3 separate regions of the Homo sapiens genome follow, and regions 1 and 3 are each linked to region 2. The links are contacts of gene promoters, found by promoter capture Hi-C in human tissues and cell types (Jung and others, 2019). All regions are on one chromosome and are shown on one strand. Each heading gives the region's core, a stretch centred on a gene start or on the middle of the fragment in contact. The rest is flanking DNA. Distances are from core to core; before and after follow the strand shown.

Region 1 (3,136 bases), core at 629-3,128, 390 kb before region 2:
TGCAGGCCTGGTGTCGGGGTGCACAGTGATGTGGCACAGCTGTGACCATGCCGGTTGGTCTCGAGCTTGCGGCCTGTCACAGGGTGTTTACCTGAGAATGAATCTGAGAGGCCACAGGGCTGGAACTGTGTCTCGCGGGCGGAGGAAAATGTGCACAGCTATTTTAAAGCCGAGGGCTGTACATCTTGTTCACGGCCTGCTGTTCACAAGGACAAACAGGGCTCACCTAAGGAGAGGGACAGTCTTTAAACAAACCTCGTTACACTTCAAGAGTCGCTTTCAAATTGGAAAGAAAGGGGGACAAAAGGGTCTTACATGCGTCTATGATGGATGAGACACACAGGCACAGAAGCAGCGGCAGACTCACATTCTCCTTGCTGCTGGGGAGCCTGAGAGACAGCCTGGTGGGGATATGCATGTGTACATGCTCATACAGATCAGCCTTGCACACAGATATGCACACATGCACACAGACGGACACACAGCCACACATACCTTTACACGCACAGATGCATACAAACCTACACACACGCACATGCTCACACACAAATACACATGCACACAGGCACACATCCACACACCTATACACGCGTAGATACACAAATCCACACACATGCACATGCTCATGCACAGATATACACACAGATAGACACACATCCACACACACCCATACACACATAAATACACAAATCCACACACACGCACATGCTCACACACAGATATACACACATGCACACAGATAGACACACACTCACAAACATACACACAGAGGTATATACACATCTGCGCACATGCACATGATCACATACAAATATACACACAAATTAACACAAACATATATACATGTGCAAACACAGAGATATACACAGTCACACATGCACACACGTGCACACATCTAGACACATGCAGATATGTGTACACATTCACACATATAGACACACACACAAATTCACACACGTCCACATTCACTCAGAGATATACACATACATTTACACATATATACATTTCCAAACACAGATATATATACATTCATACATGCACACACATGCACATATATGCACACCGATATGCACACACATATACATACATATACAACATGTGCACTCACACAGATATTCACACAAACTCACACACATTCATAGACATACATTCACACACACTTGCATACAAATCTAAAAACAGACAAGTATAAACGTGTTCAATACACGGAGATGCTCAAGCATATACACACTCTCACTCATGCACACTCACATGCACACACACTCATCAGCACTGCACATGCATGCTCACCTCAGAGACCAACACGCACTCCCACATAAACTATCACACATGCACATACAGTCTCACACTACCTCATACACATCCCCACACCCACATAGACGTTTGTAAGCACATTTCTTTACATACAGGCCCTCACACACGTTCTCACTGATGGACTCACACACTCCCTTACACACTCATACACATACAGCTTGCACTGAAACACACGAATGCCGTGTCTCTGGTTCTTCTGAACATTTTTAGAAAGTGTTGTTGTCCCCAGCTCTGGGAACACCCTCCCTTTGGAGGCCCGCGTGGGCCCAGTTGCCCTAGTGTGCCCATCCACGCGCGAAGGAGTTTAGGTCGAAAGGTTTCTGCTACTTTCTCCCTCCTGTGTCCTCCAAAAGGAAGACGGTGACTACTATGGTGGTTTTGAGGCCACCTGGGGAGCTGCAGATAGATTCTCCTTGGTGGGTTGAATCTTCATGGCCAGGTTCATTGACTCTGAGAAGTTAATGAGCAATTTGCATTTTCCTGTTTGATTACCTGTATTTTGTCAGCTGAAGTTTATTTTATGCAAATGGGTCACCTCTCTGCACCCTTCCATTCTTCCCAGGTGTTTTCATGTGCTGCCTACGATGAGGTAGATGAAAGAATTTTTTGAGTGGGTCACTGGATTTTCTTCTACCTCGAGTTGCCTTGAAAAACGCAACTCTAGTAAATGTCAGTTTGACTGCAGGAGGCTGTGGCTCAGCTGTGTTTCGATATTGTTTTGGATATAGATGGCGAGTCAGGGCACTTTCCCTGTATTATCCAAATACTTGTGTATTTTTACACGTTTAAATTATTTAAGCATTTAAATTATAATTTTATTAACACATAAAGGAGTAAATTTCTCTTTAAACCAACTAAATAGTTTTAATATTATCATAATTCCTTTCAGTTTCTTATACCTATAACCATAAGTAAGCTAAATGGAGTTTTATAATTTATATTAAAGTTCTTATCTGAATCCCTGGGTTCTAACCCTTATTCTTCAGAATGATCAGATATCCTTCCATGTAAATAAATGTTGATGTTTTTGGATCAGCTGGTAAAACAGAAAAACAGGAAGAGACAGGCCTGCACAAGAAGCATCATCTTTTTTGTTGTATGTTAAAATACATAATAAAATTTACTATCGTAACAATTTTAAATGTACAGTTCAGTGACATCAAGTACGTTCACATTGTTATGCAACCAGCACCACCATTCATTTCTAGAACTTTTTCATCTCGCAAAACCAAAACTCTGTAACCATTAGACAACAACTCCTCACTTCCCCTCCCACTATGTCTAGCACCCACCCTTCTACTCTCTGTCTCTATGAATTTGACTACTCTAGGTATACCTCAAGTAAGTTGGATCATACAGTATTTGTTCTTTTGTGACTGGCTTACATCACTTAGTCTAATGTTCTCAATGTTCATCCGTATTGTAACATGTGAGAACTTCCCTCCTTTTTGAGGCTGTATAATATTCCATTGTGTGGAGATAACTACATTTGCATATCCATTCATCCATTGATTGATAAACACTTGAGTTGCTTTCATCTTTTGGGTATTGTGAGTAATCCTTCTGTGAACATTGGTGTTAACAGACTGTTTTTTGTTTTTTTTTTTAAAGACCTGACACTGTAGATTTCTTTTTCTAAAAAATTATTATTTTCTTTAGAGACTGATGAAGGTTGGAGCTGACACATGGGTTTTCAAGAAGCTCTCCCCTCCCCATGATTCTAATGGGCAGCCAATATTGTCATCCACTAGGTGAGAGGAAACCCAGATCTCCTTTGGGAGCAATGTCCCCTACACCTGTGAAGAGAGGTGGGGAAGGGTCC
Region 2 (2,974 bases), core at 60-2,559:
AGGGGCTGGCACTGGTACTCGCAGTTGGCTCTGAAGCACGGGTCCACGGGCTCCACACACTCGCCGTCCACCAGGTCGTAGTTAGGGTAGCAGTGGCACTCGAAGCCACCCTGTGTGTTGACACAGCGCTGCGGACACGGACTGGGCTCCAGTATGCAGTCATCCACGTCCTCGCACCGGTGTTGGTCGGCCGCCAGCCGGTAGCCGGTCTCGCACATGCACGAGTAGGAGCCCGGCTGGTCGGGGTTGGGAACGCAGAAGTGCTCGCAGAGGTCGTTGCAGGACTGCGTCGCGGATGCGGTGCAGGAGCGCCCGTCTGCCTGCAGGGCGGCGCCGGCTGGGCACTGGCAGCGGGGAGCCCCAGGGATCGCATTGCACGCGTGCTCGCAGCCGCCGTTCTCCACGCTGCAGTCCCAAGCGCCCGGCGCCTCCCTGGCCCAGTGCCCCTGGACCGCTCCGGGCGGCGCGGTGCACATTAGCTGTAAGCCGAGGGGAGCCACCGCGGCGGAGCTGCCCACCGGCAGCGCCTGGAAGTCCGCTCCGCGGGCCGCGAACGGGGTGCCGTAGGTGATCGAGACGGCGGCAGCCGCGGCGCCGGGCTCCACAGCCAGTGGCCTGCAGGTGGCTGGGAAGTGGAACTCGCAGAGGAAGCCATCGGCCTTCACTTCGCACTGCTGCTCCTCCCAGATCGGCTCGCTGGGCACAGTGGCCTCAGCAGCGGAGACAGCGACGCACAACGGGCCGCAGAGGGGAGCCCCATTGAGGTCGAGCCGTGCCCACCTGCTATAGCTGGTGTTGTTGTCTCCCGTAACCCACTGGAAGCCGCGCAGGGGCCCGAGGCGCTTGGGGTCGCCGCAGCCGGGTGGCAGCTGCAGGCCGATCCAGAGGCGCCGGCGGCCAACGCCGCCGTCGCCGTTCAGTAGCAAGGAAATGACATCGGCAGCCACCGAGGAGCGCACTGTCATTAGGTGGCCCCGCAGTCCGTCGCAGATCTGACTGGCATTGAGGAAGGTCGCGGGGCCCGGGTAGAGCGCGAAGCAGTCGTGCTCGACGCACTGGCTGCCACCCGGCTGCGGCTCTGCGGGTGCGGGGAACCCCAGGCCGGCCAGGGCCAGCGCGCCAAGGACCAGGACCCCAAGCATGTTACCCAGGCGCGCCGCGTGCAGGCGCCGGGGAAAGCGCGGGCACTGCGACAGGGCCGTGCCGGAGCAGAGGGGCACAGGACGCCGATGGCGACAGCCTCTCCTGTCCGTCCCAGCCCAGACACTTCTTGCCGCTGCGCGCAGCCCCTGCGAGGCAGCCTCTGACATGCGGATCGGCCAGGGCTCGAGTTTATAAGTGCCCGGCCCTCCCTCCCTGGACGTTCGGGAAAAGGAAGGAAGTGCCTGGTGGGAAGGGCTGATGCCGCATACTCGGATTGCTGGGTTCTCTGGCCGCCCTTGCGCCCGCCCTCGCGCATGGGATCACCTCGCCGGGATGAGTAAACCCTGCCCTGGCGCAGGGAGGTTCTCGGGCGGGGCCGACAGGGGCAGGCGCCAGGGAAGGCCAGCACCCCTGTAACAAGACGACTGTCCCCGCCCACCACTCGGGCCCCCACGCGTGCAGCCCTCTTTCATCTCTTGGTCCTCCTTTCTTTCTTTTCATACATGTTACAGCCACTTCCAAGGAAAGCCTGGATTGCAAGAGCTCTGGGAACCGGAGACTTCAGAGAAGAGGGCTTTGAATGGGGAGTGGGGGAGGTGGTGCACAGGACCTGCAAGACGCTGGGAGGGGTGATCGGCACCAAGGGCACTTTGGGAGGACCTGCCTAGGACGTGGACTTCCCCGAAGACAGGATCGCAAGGAGAGACAGCTGGATCCTGTCCGCGGCCAAGGTGCCTGGCTCAGGAAACCAGCGGAGCGCGCTTGGCCTCACAGGACAGTGGGTGTGGCTGGGGTGACGGGGCAGGGTGGGGAAGACTGGCCTAACACCAGCGCCCTCTGCCCCATGGCTGGCCAGGGACCCGCGAGTCCCTGGACACGCACTGGCCAACGCCAGACCCCATCTCATCGGGTGGGGAAGTCGCGGGGACACTGTCAGGGCGCCGAAGTCCGGACCCGGCTCAGAGGCGGTGGCAGGTGAATTGCTGCGGCGCCGGGTAGGGGCGGGCGCGTGGGAGCGAGTCAGCCTGGCCAGTTTCGGCCCAGCTTCCGAAGGATGGTGCTTCTTGCACCCCAACAGAGTGGCTGGCAACCCCCCAGGGGAGCGCGCAGGATCCCAGCTGATCCCACCCGGGTCGGCTAAGGAGGTTTCCATTTCGTCCAGAGTCCGAATTGATACCCACGTGCATAGAAACGCCACTTGCTCGGCAAAGGGCACTGAAGAGCCACCGTCCTGTGGATGGGCAGGGTGGGGGGGGGGCTGGAGGAGGACATGGGAATCCGTCACTTTCGACCTCTTCCGGTGGTTCACTTACCGGGAATGCGGAAGAGTGGGTCTCCCCCTCGGGTCGCCCCCATAATGGTGAGAGGCAAACTGTTTAAAAACACCCTTGCCTCTCTCCTCTACTGTCCTCACAACGAGCGCCAGGGGGCGGCGCTGTCGAGCTCTAAACAAAGCCAAGGAAGTTGGAGAAGTTTCGGGCTAAAAAGGGTTAAGGTGTAGGAGCACAGAGTCCTCCTTCTGGGGTTGGAAGCTCCGTTCCCGGGCAGCTCAGCGTGGATTCCGCTGCGTTCACCTCTTGCCTCCAGGGCCCAGTAGATCCTGGGCTTTAAACAAGAACAGAGAGTATGGCGTCTGCCACGTGCGACAGACACGCACCGGTGGGGTGGGCCGGGCTGGACTGGACTGACCTGCAGTGACCAAACGGGTGGGGCGTGGACACTCTGAAAGTGAAAAAGGCAAGCACGACTGTCCCGCCGCACACTCCCCAGCGCCTTGGGGCAGAGAGCCTCCAAACGTCCCGCTGAGTTGAGCTCTTCGCTGGGAAGGCCG
Region 3 (2,996 bases), core at 275-2,774, 470 kb before region 2:
CTCATGTTGCCCGAGCCGCTGCCCATGGCGGCCGCCGACATGCTCATGTACGTGTTCATGCCGTTCATCCCCAGGCCGGCGTTCATGTTGCTCACGGAGGAGTAGCCCTGCGGACAGAGCCCCGGGAGGGAGGCGACAGCGTTAGCACCGCGGCTGGAGGGTGCCCAGACCTCCCACCCACCGCCCAGGCCTCCGCGTCCGGGGAGGCCTCCGGGGAGCCCTTTCGTCCCCGATGGCCCAGTCTCCGGACTCCGAGTCTGTTTCATTCAGGGAGAGTCATGATCGATCGCCCTTGGGAAGGTGGCGAGCGGATTGCTGCTTGGGCATGTGGCCCGTTCCTAGCCCTTCTCCACCTCGCCCAGATTCTAGAACAGGGGTCCCATGGAGTACTCCCAAGCCAGCACCCCAAATACATTCCCCTACCCCAGAGTCTCCCCAAACTCTCCCACCAGCATACTGAGCTGGCGCCGAGGCCCGAAGTCCCCGGACGCCACCTCCGGTCGCAGCAAGCAACCTGCGGGACAACGCGCGGGGCGCCTCGGGCTGCCTCCAGCGAAGACTGTCCCGGGCCCCCTCTGTCCGGTCTCCCTCCAGGGACCCCCTCCCTTGTCCCAGGGAAACTGCAAGGCAGTGCCTGTGCGGAGTGCGGGGGCGGCTGGAGGCACTGAACGGGGCAATAGGGAAAGAACCGAGACCTGAACCACACGCGGCTGAGCTTTGCAGGCAAAAACTTTCTTTCTCTTTGTCCACTAGTCTTTGACTCTGCCTCCACTTCAGCCCCCAACTCCTACCCATCTTCTCCTCCTCAGCTCCCCACCCCCTCGCCGGCCGACCTCCCACCCCTCCCCAGCCGCGCGCTGCCAAACATAACTCTGTTAGGATAGTGCGTGGCTCGGCCACGAAGAGGATTTGGAGGCGCCGCAAGTCAATATTTGATCACAAAGTTAATATTATCTCAAGGCTAACAGTGTGTCGTATAAAAAAGAGACCCATTTGATTCCAAGGAGGGCGGAAAAGGCGGCTGCCCAGAAAGGCTGGGGTTGTGGGGCGGGGTGGGGGGGTGCCAGCGAGGGAAGCGGTCCTGAGGTTGGGGAAGGAGCGAGCGCCGCCGCTCCACTTCCCCCTGGAAAAGACGAGCGCTTACCTCGGGCTCTGCATAGTAGCTGCTCCAGTCGGACGGCTCGTGCCCTTCCATCTTCACCGCTCCCAGCATACTGGAAGCCGAGTGCATGGCAGTTTAAAATTTAACAGCCACAACAAACGACCAGCAATCACCCCCCACCCCCACCCTCTTTTAAAAAAAAGTCAGCCAAAGCACCGTCCCCTCCTCCCTCCCTCTCTCGCGCTCCCTCTCCCTGGGCTCCACTCCCTCTCTCTCCCTGGGCAGGCCGGAGGCGGTAGTTGGAAGTGGGCGGGAGGTGGGGGGGGGCGAGGAGCGGAGGAGGCCCAGGCCAGCGCCCCGCGGTAGGGAGCACCCGCCGCCGCCGCGCTCACGGGCTGCCGGGTGGCGGCTGAGGTTGGCAGTGCCGAGCTGCCCCGAGGCGGCGGGAAGCGCGCGGCGCGGGGGCTAGTGGGGGGGTGGGGAGGAGGAGGAGGAAGGAGGAGGAGGAGGCGGTGGTGGTGGTGGAGGAGGAGGAGGAGGAGGAGGAGGAGGAGGAGGAGGAGGAGGTGTGGACCGCGGAGCGGACAAGTGCCGCAGTGACGTGGGAGGCTGGTGATATAGCGCGGCGCGCTGGCGCGGGCCTCCAATCCCCAGACCCGGGGCAGCCCATTTGAATAATCAGCTCACACCTAGGTGAGAGGTAGCCGCAGCCGGCGCTCCGCACCTGCCCCTCAGCGCCTGCCGTCCGCCCCACCGCCGCGGCGCCCCGCACTCCTGGGCGGGCCAGGGGAGCGGGCTGGGCGGGCGATCGGGCACGCGGGATCCCTGGTCGAGCCCCCTTTCCTCCCGGGTCCACAGCGAGTCCCCTGAGGAAGGAGGGACCTGGGAGGAAACCACCCTCTGGGGCGGCTCCGGCCTCCAGCCCCCGCCCCGTCTCATCGCGCCGGGCGCCCGGTGCGCCTGTCGGAGGGCGCGTCCAGCCTCAGTGCCCGGCAGATCCCTATGAAAGCCGGATTTATTTATGCCGGGTTTCTTCGCTCTCAGTGCTCATTCTCTGTCAAAACAGCAAGTCCATGACAGCCAATTTGCAAAGCGCTGTCCTATTTAGAAAAACTACGTACACACCTTTAACTCGCCCGCTGCTGCTCCTGCGAGGCCCCTCCCTGTTACAGTTCAGACCCGGAACGGCCTCGGGAGAAGCGCGGGGCGCACGGTCTGGCCGCCTCGGCTCTCCGACTCCTCAGACACCGGCCGCCAGGGACCCGCAGTGGGGCGGCCGGCGCCTGGCGCAAGCAGCCCCTCTAGCAGCGGCCGACGGTTGGGAGGCTGAGATTTGTCTCTGATATTCAGGCCGGCGTGTTTCAAGGTTACTTTTCAGTCACAACCGAGGTGCCCACAGCATTTCGTAACTAAAACAAACAGGGCAGGAGGTGGGGAGGGAGGGGTGAGGAGAGAAGAATCCAGGAATCAATGATGGGGCATATGGAGTTGACTTCAAGAGCGTCTCTGTCCTCTCTGTCTTCCAGAGGGACTGCTTAATAGAAATTAGAAACTCCAGCAATCGTATACTTTTATTTCCCCAGCAGCTCTTGGGTTCAAAAATTGTCTTCTGTTCTGGGTTAGCCTGTGAGCCCAGATTTGGAGTGGGGGGATATTGCAGGTGTTTGGATGTGGAGGCTCTTTCTTGGTTCTGAAAACCTGGCTGGACCTTGGGGATCCAGCCCTGTACCCACCCCCTCAGACACAGAGAATGCATAGGAACTAGTGGGCATCCAGCCCACCTGTCCAAAATTGGGGGCGATGGTGGCAGAAGACAGGCGAGATGGCAGACACGGAGCTTCGCATTGAAGCTTGAGTAAGGGTGAGGCTGGAAGGCAAGCGAGGAGGTAGCAGT

The links. The method cuts DNA at HindIII sites, captures the fragments that hold promoters and counts their contacts. A contact is called where the count stands out against the background at its distance.
Region 1: a fragment that was not itself captured here is called in contact with the fragment with the promoter of THBD in region 2 in 2 of the 25 tissues and cell types used here (neural progenitor cells and thymus).
Region 3: the fragment with the promoter of FOXA2 here is called in contact with the fragment with the promoter of THBD in region 2 in 3 of the 25 tissues and cell types used here (heart right ventricle, neural progenitor cells and thymus).

What each region holds. Positions count from the first base shown.
Region 1 is chr20:22,653,744-22,656,879 of GRCh38, forward strand. No RefSeq gene overlaps it. Among named protein-coding and RNA genes, the nearest start is that of LINC01747, 30 kb to the right of the region's middle. The HindIII fragment of the contact is 5,260 bases long and covers 1-3,136 here.
Region 2 is chr20:23,048,363-23,051,336 of GRCh38, forward strand. It overlaps THBD (thrombomodulin), which reads right to left and starts at 1,310. Exons shown (of 1, transcript NM_000361.3): 1 at 1-1,310. The coding sequence starts at 1,142. The HindIII fragment of the contact is 7,811 bases long and covers 1-2,974 here.
Region 3 is chr20:22,583,048-22,586,043 of GRCh38, forward strand. FOXA2 (forkhead box A2) reads right to left here and starts at 1,525. Exons shown (of 2, transcript NM_021784.5): 1 at 1,145-1,525; 2 at 1-107. The coding sequence starts at 1,231. RefSeq lists enhancers at 1-130, 1,555-2,310. The HindIII fragment of the contact is 10,630 bases long and covers 1-2,996 here.